Linked DNA regions of Homo sapiens: region 1 is linked to region 2. The links are contacts of gene promoters, found by promoter capture Hi-C in human tissues and cell types (Jung and others, 2019). All regions are on one chromosome and are shown on one strand. The core of a region is centred on a gene start or on the middle of the fragment in contact, and the rest is flanking DNA. Distances in the headings are between cores, read along the strand shown.

The links. The method cuts DNA at HindIII sites, captures the fragments that hold promoters and counts their contacts. A contact is called where the count stands out against the background at its distance.
Region 1: a fragment that was not itself captured here is called in contact with the fragment with the promoter of DGCR8 in region 2 in 1 of the 25 tissues and cell types used here (dorsolateral prefrontal cortex).

Annotation. Positions count from the first base shown.
Region 1 is chr22:19,748,757-19,754,974 of GRCh38, reverse strand. No RefSeq gene overlaps it. Among named protein-coding and RNA genes, the nearest start is that of TBX1, 8.9 kb to the left of the region's middle. The HindIII fragment of the contact is 4,857 bases long and covers 271-5,127 here.
Region 2 is chr22:20,077,571-20,083,782 of GRCh38, reverse strand. DGCR8 (DGCR8 microprocessor complex subunit) reads right to left here and starts at 3,542. Exons shown (of 14, transcript NM_022720.7): 1 at 3,400-3,542. RefSeq lists enhancers at 1-619, 2,724-2,783 and a silencer at 3,044-3,663. The HindIII fragment of the contact is 8,782 bases long and covers 861-6,212 here.

The DNA of each region.
Region 1 (6,218 bases), core at 1,450-3,949, 330 kb after region 2:
AGGGCGCATTTGGGTCCACCGCCGGATCTCCTGTGCCACCGCAAACACTGCCTGCGATGAAGAAGGAGGCCGTTCCTGTTACCCAGCCTGGGGTCTCAATGGGAGTCCTCCCCAACCTGTGGCTCAGGTGGTCCCACTGCTCCTTGACCTTGCCCTCCCTGGACCTCTCTCCTCCCTGGCGCCCGCCTCCTGACACGGAAGTCCTCACCAAGCCCACCCCCACGTGTTCTCCTTGGTGTTGGGCCTTTACTCAAACTGCTGGGGTCGTGGGTACTCTGGCTGGTTCCAAGCTCTGGGGGGTGTGTCAGACAGCAGGCAGGAACCCTGCCCAGGAGCTCCAGGCCCACAGCCACGTTCCCAGGAAGGGGCCCAGGGCTTGGAGGAGGTGTCCCTGTGAGTCTGGTCAGGACCAGGCTGACCACATAGCTGGCAAAGGCCTGGGAGTTAGACACAGCCTGGTGTGCACACCTTGTGGCTGGGAGGACACTGGACAGGATGACAGGAGGTGTGGCCCCCTCACCCGGCCCAGAGCATCCCCTGGGACTCTTCCTAGGCCCCAGCACCATCTGCTCCCTGGTCCCAGGGCAGGGTCTGACCCGCCTGAGAGTCCTAGTGCCTGGACCCTGGGGGACAAAAGACTGCAGGATTGACAAAGAGAACAGCGAGACCCTGAGAGAGGCAGACATGGGATGGGGTAATGGGTGGAGAGAAGACTGGACAGGGAAGCACACAGCCGTGTGACACCAGCCTCCTCCCAGCCGGGAGGGGGCCGGCCAGGGTCTGCACAGCCAGCCGCATACAGCTGGTCCCCAACCTCCTGTCACCCGGCCTAGCTGTCCCCCGCAACTATGGGTGCGATGTTCTGGGCCAAGTTCCCAGGAGGACAGATGTGGGGAGATGATGAGAGGGATGGCTGGCCGGATGGGTAATGGCACCCTCTGCCCCCCGACCTCGCCAGGCACCAGGACTCCCTGCAGACTGGAAGTTCCCACAACTCCAGAACAAACAAACAAACAGACAGACTGATGGACAGCCCAGCCCTGGACCCCTCTCCAATTTCTGAGGCTGTTGATTTAGCTGCCCACTTGGTGGGAGGACCCAGCCACATGGGGAGCTGGCTGTCCATCTGTCTGTCCATCTCCTGGCCACACTAGCCCCTCCACCCCAGGTGCAGCCAGGCAGAGGTGAGGCTCTGAGACCCTGGAAGACCTATGTGCAGGCTGGTGAGGTGGCTGGATCTCAGCCTGGCGGGCCAGCTGAGGAACCAGTCCCTGCTAGCCCCCTTCCCTTCTGTGGCCCCAGCAGGGGGAGCCACACTTGCCAGGGGAAGGGACTTGTCCCAAAAGACCCTGGAGGAGTGTTGGCTGAGGGTGAGTGGCCAGAAGATGGACACGTGCAGACAGGCCCCTCCAGTTCCTCTGGGCAGCAGGGAACCCTGACTGGACAGTAGCTCCCATTTGCCCATGTTCAAGCACCCACACCACCACGTGCACACATACTCATGAGCATGAGCATGAGTGTATGTGTGTGTTCACACCATGTTCATACTCAGGCACACATACATGGGAGTGTGGGCACATATGCCTACACATGTGAGCATACCAATATTGTGACCATGGGCACATGTGTCCACATGCACATATCAGACACACAGACGTGAGCATGGGCACACACAGGCACACTGCATGCAGACACACGGACTGGGCCCAGACGCACACATGCACACTGTATGCCTGCAGACACGCAAGCATGGGCACTCTACATGTACACAGACGTGAGCACGGGCATGCATGCACCTCTGTACATAGACACACGTGAGCATGGGCACACACATGCACATAGCAGACACCAACACAGACACCAGTGTGAGAGAGTGTGCACACACAGCACATGTAGCAGATATACATACAGGCGCACACATGTGCAGGCTTATCACTCACAGTGGCCACTGTAACCCTTCTACAATAATGACGATGCTCACATGTGCCTTGGATTGACTTGACTTGGGCGAAGCACTGTGGAAGCTTGCTGCTGTGTGAGGAAGGAAGAATGCAATATTTCAGTCCTCTCCTGCTGGGTCATTTCTGAAGGGGATGCACTCGGATGATGGCATCCGACTGGCCAGCCTGCTTCCTTGGACATTGGTACTGGAAGAGACTCTCAAGACAAGATCGGTCTACAGAGAACCTTCTGGGTGGAACTCCTTGGGAGGCCACTTTCCATGCTCAGACCCCAACCCTGAATCTTGCTTGGTGGCGAATGAGCCCTGGGAAGCTCTGAGAAGGAAGGCTCTGGGGACAGGGCCAGAGGCAATGAGGAATGACAACTAAGCCAGTGACCTCAGCACCTTTGTTAATGGGTCCTAACGAGGCCATGCCCCCGTAAACATTGGATATGTTGTATCTCTCTTTAAAGATGCTTAAAGCATTTAAAGTAGTCAAATATATCACACTTGCAGTTTTCATTAAATGCTCAATTGATTCAAGTAGTCCATACTGTCACTGTGACAGCCCAGTGTGACTGCTGGGAGAGACTGTGTGGAAATCCTGTCTCAGTGGAGGGGAGGACTGGCCCCACACCCTGTGCCTCTCGGTCCACTCTGCTCCCTGGCCAAGCCCCCAAGGCTGCTGGATTGTCCCTCCTAGGCCAGGACTGTGCCCAGGTGCCCAGGCTGGCATTTGAGCCTCCCTGCCCACTGCTCTGGGCAGACCCTGCTCATATCTCCCCCTGTGCTTGTGGGGGCTGACCTGAGGCGCCCTCACTGACCTGGGGCCAAAGGCAGGTGGGCTGCCCAGGCTGGGGCAGGTTTTGGGGAGTGTCCCTGATGGGCAAGGCTCTAGCACGGGAACCCCTTTGCTGAGACCTGTGGAGGATCCCCAAGCCCGTGGGCAGAGGGGGACCGGGGCCTGGAGAGATTAGTTGCACAGGCAGCTTTCCCTGGTCGGGGTGGCGATGCAGGGCTGGGGGCTGCCAACTCTGTCTGGTCTCCCGCCTTCCCAGGGGAAGGAGCTGGTGAGAAGGCTGGCAATATTTCATTTCAAAGGAGAACAGGACTGCTTCGGCAGGACCCCTGTACTCTGGGCCCTTCTGCACAGGGAGGAACCAGCGTGGTGATGTCGCCCAGTCTCAGGAGCTGGGTCCAGGAGCGAGCTTCACCCTTCAGGGCTCTGTGTCTGGGAACACGCCCTGGCCTCTGCAAGCCTCAGTGATGCTATCTGAGAAGTGGGGAGAATGCTGCAGGCCCCATGGGTGGATGGAGCCAGCACATGTGGGCCCTCAATTGCAGCTCCCCAGCTGATGTCACTATTGTTGCTGCAGGGCCTCCTTGGGCCCCTCCCAGCCCCGCAGGTCCTCCCAGCACTGTGAGTAGGGTGGCTGTTGCCTCCATAGCCCCTGTGGAGCCTCCAGGCCTGGCGTGAGGTTTGGGGAGGGGGAATCACAGCTGGACCCCCCAGGAGGCCCAGTTAGGCACCCTCTCCCGGCTTCCCCACTGGGTCCCTGTGCCCAGATTCAGCCTTGGTTTCCCCACATCCACAAGCCTGCCCCAGCCCCACCCCAGACCTGACAAATCCCTTCCCTCCTCCAAGGCTCTGCTGAACCAGGTTGGAATTTCTCAAAAGCAAACAAACAGGCAAGCTCGGAGCTGCGGTTTTCAGAGCTCAGATTCCTCATGAGTCTGTCTGAGCCAGCATCAGGCCAGGCCGGCTGCCCCACGGCAGGCTGGATGGAGTGGGGGTCCTCAGCTGAGCACCCCTGGCCCACTGGCTGCTGGAACTGAGCAGGGACCAGGCTCAGAGCCTACAGTCCCAGACAGCACCTGGCTGGCCCGGTTCCCTCCTGAGACCCAGCAAGAATGGCAGGAGGCTGAAGCCAGTGCTGAATTTGGGTCTGGAGTGGCCGGGTGGGAGGTGGACGGGATCCATTGCCGTGGCTGGTGACGATGCCTGTATCTATGCAGGGCTGGGGGACATAAAGGGTGAGGATTGGAGGGACTGGAGGCTCAGGGTGGGGGTTAGGCCAGGGTATGGGCTGAGGAGAAGTGACCCGAGGTGGCCATCAGAGCGGGTGGGGACATCCTCAGGCCCATGGCAGGGCAGGGCAGGGCAGGGCGTGGAGGCTGCCGTGGAGGAACGTGGGGATGGGAGAGGAGGGCCGGGGCCGGGAGGGCACCTCAAGGGGCCGACAGGGTTAGGAGGGAGGGCTGGGGAGAGGGGAGGGGTGGGAGGGGTTCTCGCCAGGTGGTCTTAATCTCCTCAGTGAAATAGGAGTCCTGGGGGGTGGGCGGGGGAGGTGGGAGCTGGAGACAGCTGCGGGAGGGGGCCGGGCCTGACAGCCTGAGGCCACCAGGAACCCCTGCCTACCGGGCCGACGAGTGTCCGAGTGTCTGTGGGCTGAGACTCAGAGCCGGTTCTTCCACCCACCCCTTTTCGCTTGGCCTCATCTGCCTTTACTGAGATGATTTTGGTCACCCGGAGGGGCTGGCATATGTCTGTGGGGGTGTCGTCTGGGCCCTTCCTGCTCTCTTAGCTGCCTGAGTGACTGGGCAGGGCAGGGCCTGGGCCACTGACACCCCCTCACTTGGGTCCCCACTAAGCTGTTGTCTGCTCTGAGGTAATGCCAATGGGGCTAGGGGGTGCAGGGGGGAGGGAGGAGGCCTTGGCCATCCCTGTACACCTCAGCTTCCCCTGCCAGCCCAGCTCAGGGAACAGAGGGACAGAGCGGGGGGTGGCGTGGGTCCAGGACACATGTGGCTCCTGTGTGGACGTCCTGGGAGACGGGAGGGGGCATGGGCAGTGTGGAGGCGCGGGCTGCCCTGTCCTGCTAAGTGGGTGCTTGGCACCAGCTGTTCTGGGTGGACAGATGGATGTGAGCTTTTACCAGTGCCCTAAAGTCAATCCAGCCCCTCCCTCCAGCGTGTTTGCCAGGACCGAGTGACCCAGCAGCCACCCCATCCTGGGCGGGGGTGTGGACGGGTGTCGGGCTGTCTCAGTCTTCACCAGGAACTGCCAGGCCCTGGGGCTGGTCTGAGTGTCCAATGTACCCACTGCAGTGGAGGTCCCAGCCTGGAGAAACGGAGGCAGTACCCCTGACACAGCTGGCCTGGAACAGGTGGGGCAGGAGCACCTGGGCCATCCCTGGATCCTCTAGGCTGGCTTGGCTCTCCTGTGGACCCCATGACCAGGGCCCCTCTCTGCAGTGCCCACCCACACCCCCATGTGGCTCCCATGTAGACAGAGCCCCTGGCCACCTGTCCCCTCCCTCCCGGCCCTGTGCCCTGTCCCCACCACCACATAAGCCAGCCTTCTCCCCTTGCACCTGCTGAGCCCTGCACCCTGCTGATTCTCTCTGTTCCTTGGGGCTGTCAGGGTGGCACTCGCCCCAGGGCATTTGCTGTTGTGTCATTGTTCCCCCTGGGTCAGGCTCAGGGTCACCAGGGCTTCGGGGGCCAGGGAAGATAACCCCCGAGGCGACCAGCCGGCCTGTCTCCCTGTGTAGAGCAGCAGAGAGCAACAAGGCACAACCAAGACGTGCATGGTCTCAGATGTCACCGAGGGGGTGGCACATGAATCCCGCTAAGCCAGCCCTCGTGAGCTGGAGGCTGGGCAGAGGCACGGCAGCCCTGGCTCAAGGAACAGGCTGGGCTTGGGGGTCTCTGGACACAGGGCCGTCAGCCCTGCACTGGTGGGACTGGTTCACTAGCCTCCCAACTCCAGAACCCTTCAACTGAGTGTTCACGAGAGTTCCCTCATGTGGCCTCAATGTCACTAACCCCCGAGCTCCTCCTATCCATCTCTGCACATTCAAGACACAATGAGTCTTAGTCACGCCCACACTTAGAGTGAATTTTTGCAATTAAGTTCTTTCCTTAAAGTCTGCTACAACCAGCCAGAGTCTTAACTCAGGACAGAGTATGTTTCAGTCTAGGGAGATAAAATAGGGCGATACCCTGCAAACATCTGCAGGGCTGTGCAGGGTCAGAGGAAGCAGCCCAGGTCTAAGGGAAGAAATTTCGGGAAGGAAGTCACTGCTCCTAAATGAAAAAGAGCTATGCAACATCAGAGCTGCCTGGGAGGTAAGCAAACACAGTGCCCCAGGGAGAGCAAAGCGACCCTTCTCCCCTGAGGGTGGTGGGACACTGGGCTGCAGGGATGGAAATTGAAGGGCTTTTTTCTGACTCCAGAATTGGGTGTCTGGCTTTGCTTCCTAGGGATGGAGGT
Region 2 (6,212 bases), core at 2,293-4,792:
GGGGTCAATGCGCCCAGTGCCACAGATTACAAGGAAGACCAGGGCCACACACCTCAGAACCTGGCAGTCCCATAGAGACCCTGGTGAGTCAATCCATGATTCTGGGACACAAAAAGCTACATGAAGAAGCCACAAGGAGCAGGGGATTAGAGACCAACAGTGGGACGGAATGGGGAAGCCTGCTACCACAGAAGGCGAAGAAGCAGCTAGAGTAGACGTTCCAAGCAAAGGTGCTAATGGGGCCAAGCGGCGGCACTGAAGAAATGCACAGCAGGAAAGCCTGGTGCCTTACAAGTGAGTGAGCTCCTTAGGAAAGCAGGAAACCTGCCCAGCCCCAGACCTCAGTGGTGGGCAGTCCTGGGCAAGTTCCTTCCTCCCCTCTATAAGCTTTCTCCATTCATCACACACACACACACCATCCTAGATGCTACAGACACAAGGTGGACAAAACCCTGCCCTACAGAGCTCACATTTTAGTGGGGGAGATGGACCGCTAACAACTAAGAAAAGCATGCACCCTGTCACATGCCAAGAAGTATTCAAGCAAAAACAAAACAAGGAAAGCGCCTGAAGAAGGGGAGGCAGTTTTAGGAAGGGGGATCCAAGAAGGCCTCATGGCCTGCATCCACGTGAAGGCAGGAGTGAGCCAGGTGGGTTACAGGGCTGGGAGGAGGGGATGTTCCAGGTGACACTGAGAGGAAAAGCAGAGGGCTGGGGTCAGGAATGTGGTGTGGCCAGCTGGGGCAGTGTGCTGAGGGGACGTGACAGTGGGCCAAGTCCATGAGGGCAGATGGATCAGGGCTGGTCCTCCCAGGCTGCTGCCAGGACTTTGGCTCTTAGTGAGAGAGATGGGCCACCGGATAGGAAGGCCCACACAGTGGCATCAGCTGATTCCAGGATAGCAGTGGCAACCAAACCTCAGCCAGGCCCTGTTCTAAGCACTTTAAGCATTTTAACTCACCCAGGTCTCACATAGCATTATGGAAGAAAGGTTCACCCACATGCTCAAGGTCATACAGCCAGGAAGTGATGGAGCTGCTTTACAAGCAGGCAAGCTGGCTTGCATCTACACCGCCTCTGTTTTATACCATCTTATGGTTTAAAAGAACCACTCTGGGCCGGGCGCGGTGGTGCACGACTGTAATCCCAGCACTTTGGGAGGCTGAGGCAGGCGGACCACAAGGTCAGGAGATCGACACCACCCTGGCTAACACATTGAAACCCCGTCTCTATTAAAAATACAAAAAATTAGCCGAGTGTGGTGGTGGGCGCCTATAGTCCCAGCTACTCGGGAGGCTGAGGCAGGAGAATGGCTTGAACCCAGGAGGCGAAGCTTACAGTGAGCGGGAGATCGCACCACTGCACTCCAGCCTGAGCAACAAAGCGAGACTCTGTCTCAAAAAAATAAAAAGAATCACTCTGTGGCCAGGCACAGTGGCTCACGCCTGTAATCCCAGCGCTCTGGAAGGCTGAGGCAGGCAGATCATTTGAGGCCAGGAGTTCGAGACCAGCCTGGCCAACATGGTGAAACCCCGTCTCTACTAAAAATACAAAAATCAGCCGGGCGTGGTGGTGGTGGACGCCTGCAGTCCCAGCTACTTGGGAGGCTGAGGCAGGAGAATCGCTTGAACCCGGGAGGCAGAAGTTGCAGTGAGCTGAGATCACGCCACTGCACTCCAGTCTGGGCGACAGAGCGAGATTCTGTCTCAAAAAAACAAAAAAAAAAAAAAAGAAAGAAAGAAGAATCACTCTGTGTCCAGAAAAACTATAGATGGTGGATGGGGAGTGAGGACCTAAGGTGACAGTAAAGAGAATTAGAGGCTCACCAGGTAGGCTGGGCCAGGATGTTAACTTGAAGGTGGTGAGAAATGGTCTGTGCTTAGAAATAGGTGAGCTGACGGGGCCTCCTTAGGACTGCATGAAGGTGTAAGAAAGAGAGGAATCAAAGGGACTTTAGATAGGCCAAGGAATGTTTTGGCATGGGTGAAGATTTGAGTTTGGTTTGGATATGGCTACTTGGCGCCAAAGTAACACATGGAGATATGGAAGAGGTGGCCAGAAACACCAGGCTGGAAATCAGAAGAGAGGCCAGGGCTGGAGCTGTGAAGATGTCAAGGAAAGCTGGCATTAAAGTCAGGAGGCTGGGTGACATCACAAAGGAGAGGGCTACAACAAGAGAGTCTAAGACTGGGCAAGCCAGCCAGAAGCACATTTCCTACCCCAAGGTCACGGTGAGACTACAAAACAACCCCTGGGAAGTGCTCCACACAGCGCCTGGCCGCAAAGGGCTCAAAGGGGAGCTCTCTGCCCGTAGGCCTCCCCACTGCTCCAGCTGACCAAACACCGCATGCAAACCCTGCCTTGCCAACAGGACTATCGGACAGGAACGGGCTCACGGCAAGCTCCCCTGGACCCTTGGCACGGGGAGAAAACCCGTACACTTGGACAGCACCCTTCCTCCTAGCCCACTTGCTGTGTTGGCTAACAGAGGCACTGGCTGTGACGGGCCAGCACCAGTGCCAGCGCCATGGAGGCTGCCTTTTGGTCAAGTCTCTCCCGCTGCAGCCTCCCGCCCAACCCAGCGGCAGTATGACCTCATCCGTTCCTTTTGTCATCCTCCAACAGGCCTCATATCCCGCACTTAGAGGCAACACTGGGTACCCCGGGCTGGCCATTCACTCCCTTTTGTGAGTGAAGGCCTGCAGCAGGGTTTGGGCCACTCCCACAGCTGGGAGTCTAGTCTGGCCAGGAAACAGTGGATCCTCGCCTGGTGGTTGGCCTCGAACAGTCGACAGCCAAAGACAGGACTGCCGTGCAGGAACAAGGTACATGCAAGCATGCAAAAAGGCAAATCAGACTCCTGCCACAAGAAACCCAAGTCCATCGGTTGACACCAGACAGGCATCACTGTCAACAGGTTGCCACCTTCCATTTATTTCCGCCATGCTCATTGTTACAATAAAACCGTATCCCAATTATCTACGTGACACTCAACCCGTGAGCATTCTGTGGACAAAAAGACTTAGGCGACTTCTTGGATTTCCCAAACTGTGTTAAAGCCGGCAGGGTCCCAGGCGAGCACTGGCCCTGTCCACACCTTTCCCGCCTGAAGGCGATGCTAGGCTTCGGGCCCTCCGGGAGAGGAGCCTCTTTACCCGGGCGGACAGCGACGAGAGTCGGCAACGCCTGGGCCCGGGGCCCGCCCCCCAGCCCCGGAGGCGTCCCCACCCCGCGCTCTCCACCGCCCGCGGCCATGTTGCCTCACAAAGGCCGGGCTCCGCGCCCCCGCCCCGCCCGCGGCCTCGGTCCCGGAGGGAGGCGGGAGGGAAGGGCGCGCCCTCGCGCAGGCCGCGGCGCCCGCCCAACCGCCCGCGGGCGCCCCTCGCGCCCCGCACCTACCTGAGGCGCCCGCGGGCTGCCCAAGCCGCCCGCAGCCAAACCACAGCCGGGAAAGCCTCACCGACCGACCGCCGCAGCCATCTGGAAAGCCTGTCCAGGCTCTCCGGTCGCCGGCACCCGCCTGCCGCGCCGGGCGAGCGGAGGGCGGGCCTTCGCGGCGTGCGGCCAATCCCCGCGCGCGGCCGCCCCGCATTGGGGGAGCCGCAGAGCGCGCTGCGGAGGCCGCCAATCGGCGGCGCGTAGCGCGTGTGTCCGCCGCGCGCGGCCCAATAGCGCGGCCGCGCGGGAGGGACCAGGCGCCCAGGCCGCGGTCGCGCTAACAGTCGCTGCCCAGGCGGGGCTCGCTGGACTGAGGGCGGCGGCCGCGAGGAGCGCCGGGAACGGGAAGCACCGGGAATGCCGGGAGCAGGGGAGCGCGGGAAGCTCGGGGAGCGCGGGGAATGCCGGGAACAGGGAGCGCGGAGTACGCCGGGAGCGGACACGCAGACGGGCCACCTTCGGTGGACACTGCAGAAGAGACCGTGCACACACAGGCGTTACACAACCCTGTTAAAAGCATCACTGTATCAGACATCATCATTTATAAAGAACGCGTGTGCTCAACTGTCTGGCGCTGTCCCCTTTGCTAATACAGGATTTCCAAAACAGGGAGGGTTCGGCCGGGCACGGTGGTTCGGCCGGGCACGGTGGCTTGCGCCTGTAATCCCAGAGTTTTGGGAGGTCGAGTCAGGAGGATTACTTGAGCCCAGGAGTTCGAGACCAGCCTGGCTAACATAGTGAGAGCCCAGTATCTACAAATTTTCTTTCTTTTTTTTTTTTTTTTTGAGGCGGTGTCTCGCTTTGTCTCCCAGGCTGGGGTGCAGTGGCGCGATCTCAGCTCACTGCAACCTTTGCCTCCCGGATTCAAGCGATTCTCCTGGCTCACCCACCCGAGTAACTGGGATTACAGGCGCCCACCACCACGCCCGGCTAATTTTTATATTTTTGGTAGAGACGGGGTTTCACCATGTTGGCCAGGCTGGTATCAAACTCCTGGCCTCAATTGATCTGCCCGCCTCGGCCTCCCAAAGTGCTGGGATTACAGGCATGAGCCACCGCGCCGGGCCCAAAATTATTTTTAATTAGCCGCGTGGTGGCGGGCGCCTGTGGTCCGAGCTACTCGGGAGGCTGAGGTGGAAGGATCACCTGAGTCCAGGAGTTCCAGGCTGCAGTGATCCGAGATAGCACCACTTTCACTCTAGCCTGGGCGGCAGAGTGAGACTCCGTCTCAAAAAAAAAAAAAAAAAAAAGGAAAACGAGGGTCTGAGTAAGTGAGGGTACAGCTCTTCCTTAGACTAGCTTTCCTGTCAATAAATGTGGAAGGAATAGTGGAAATAGAAAAATTTTCCACTGGGTAGCCACCCCAATAATAGCTGCTGTAGACGAAAATCTTGAGTGATAAAAATAGTGGGCCGGGCCCTGTGGCTCACGCCTGTAACCCCAGTACTTTGGGAGGCCGAAGCAGGCGGATCACCTGAGCTCAAGAGTTCCACACCAGCTTGGGCAACGTGGCGAAACCTTATCTCTACTGAAAATACAAAAAGTAGCCAGGCGTGGTAGCAGGCACCTGTAATCCCAGCTACTCGGGAGGCTGAGGCAGGAGAATCGCTTGAACCCGGGAGGTGGAGGTTGCAATGATCTGAGATCGGGCCACTGCACTCCAACCTGGGTGACAGAACGAGACCGTCTCCAGAAAAAATAGTGAGCAAGGCCAGGCACAGTGGCTCATGCGTGTAATCCCAGCACTTTGGGAGGCCGAGGCGGGCGGATCACTTGAGGTTAGGAGTTCGAGACCAGCCTGACCAACATGGTGAAACCCTGTCTCTACTATAAATACAAAAAAAAATAGCAGGGCTTGGTGGCAGGTGCCTGTTGTCCCAGCTACGGAGGCTGAAGCTGGAGAATTGCTTGAACCTGGGAGGCAGGAGTTGCAGTGAGCCAAGATCCAGCCACTGCACTCCAGCATGGGCAACAGAACGAGACTCGGTCCCCGGCCCCCAACCCCCTACAAAAAAATTAGGCCAGGCACAGTGGCTTACGCCTGTAATCCCAGCACTTTGGGAGGCCGAGGCGGGTGGGTCACGAGGTCAAGAGATCAAGACCATCCTGGCCAAGATGGTGAAACCTCGTCTCTACTAAAACTACAAAAAAAATTAGCTGGGCATGGTGGCACGTGCCTGTAGTCCCAGCTACTCGGGAGGCCAAGGCAGGAGAATCACTTGAACCTGGGAGGCAGAGGTTGTGGTGAGCCGGGATCACGCCACTGCACTCCAGCCTGGGTGACAGAGTGAGACTCCATCTCAAAAAAAAAAAAAAATAGTGGGCAAAAACATGACAAACAGGTTTTGTTTTGTTTTCAGTGTTGCAAAGTTTCTCCCCCAGGATACTAATTGCCTAGGGAAAATAGTAGTTTTAGAGTGGAAGAAAACTTGGGCGACACCACCTTTAACCAAGCCATCAAGGTCACCAGCAAACTTAGCAAATTGTACCATTTAAACATGTGTATTGCATTGTATATAAATTCTGCCTCAATAGAAATGAAAAAAGTTAGTTCCAGTAAGAGGACATACTGTGGACCTCCTGAGAAGAACACAAGTTCACTTGTGGGTATTTTTGCCCAAAAGGCAGAATCTGAATGAAGAGCAGACAAACCCCAAATTAGGGGCATTCTGCAAAATTACCAGCCAGTGCTTTTCAAGTATCGAGATCATTCAAGTCAAAGATGGACTGAGGAGCCATCTTCAATTAAAAGAGATAACAAAATGCAGTGTGGA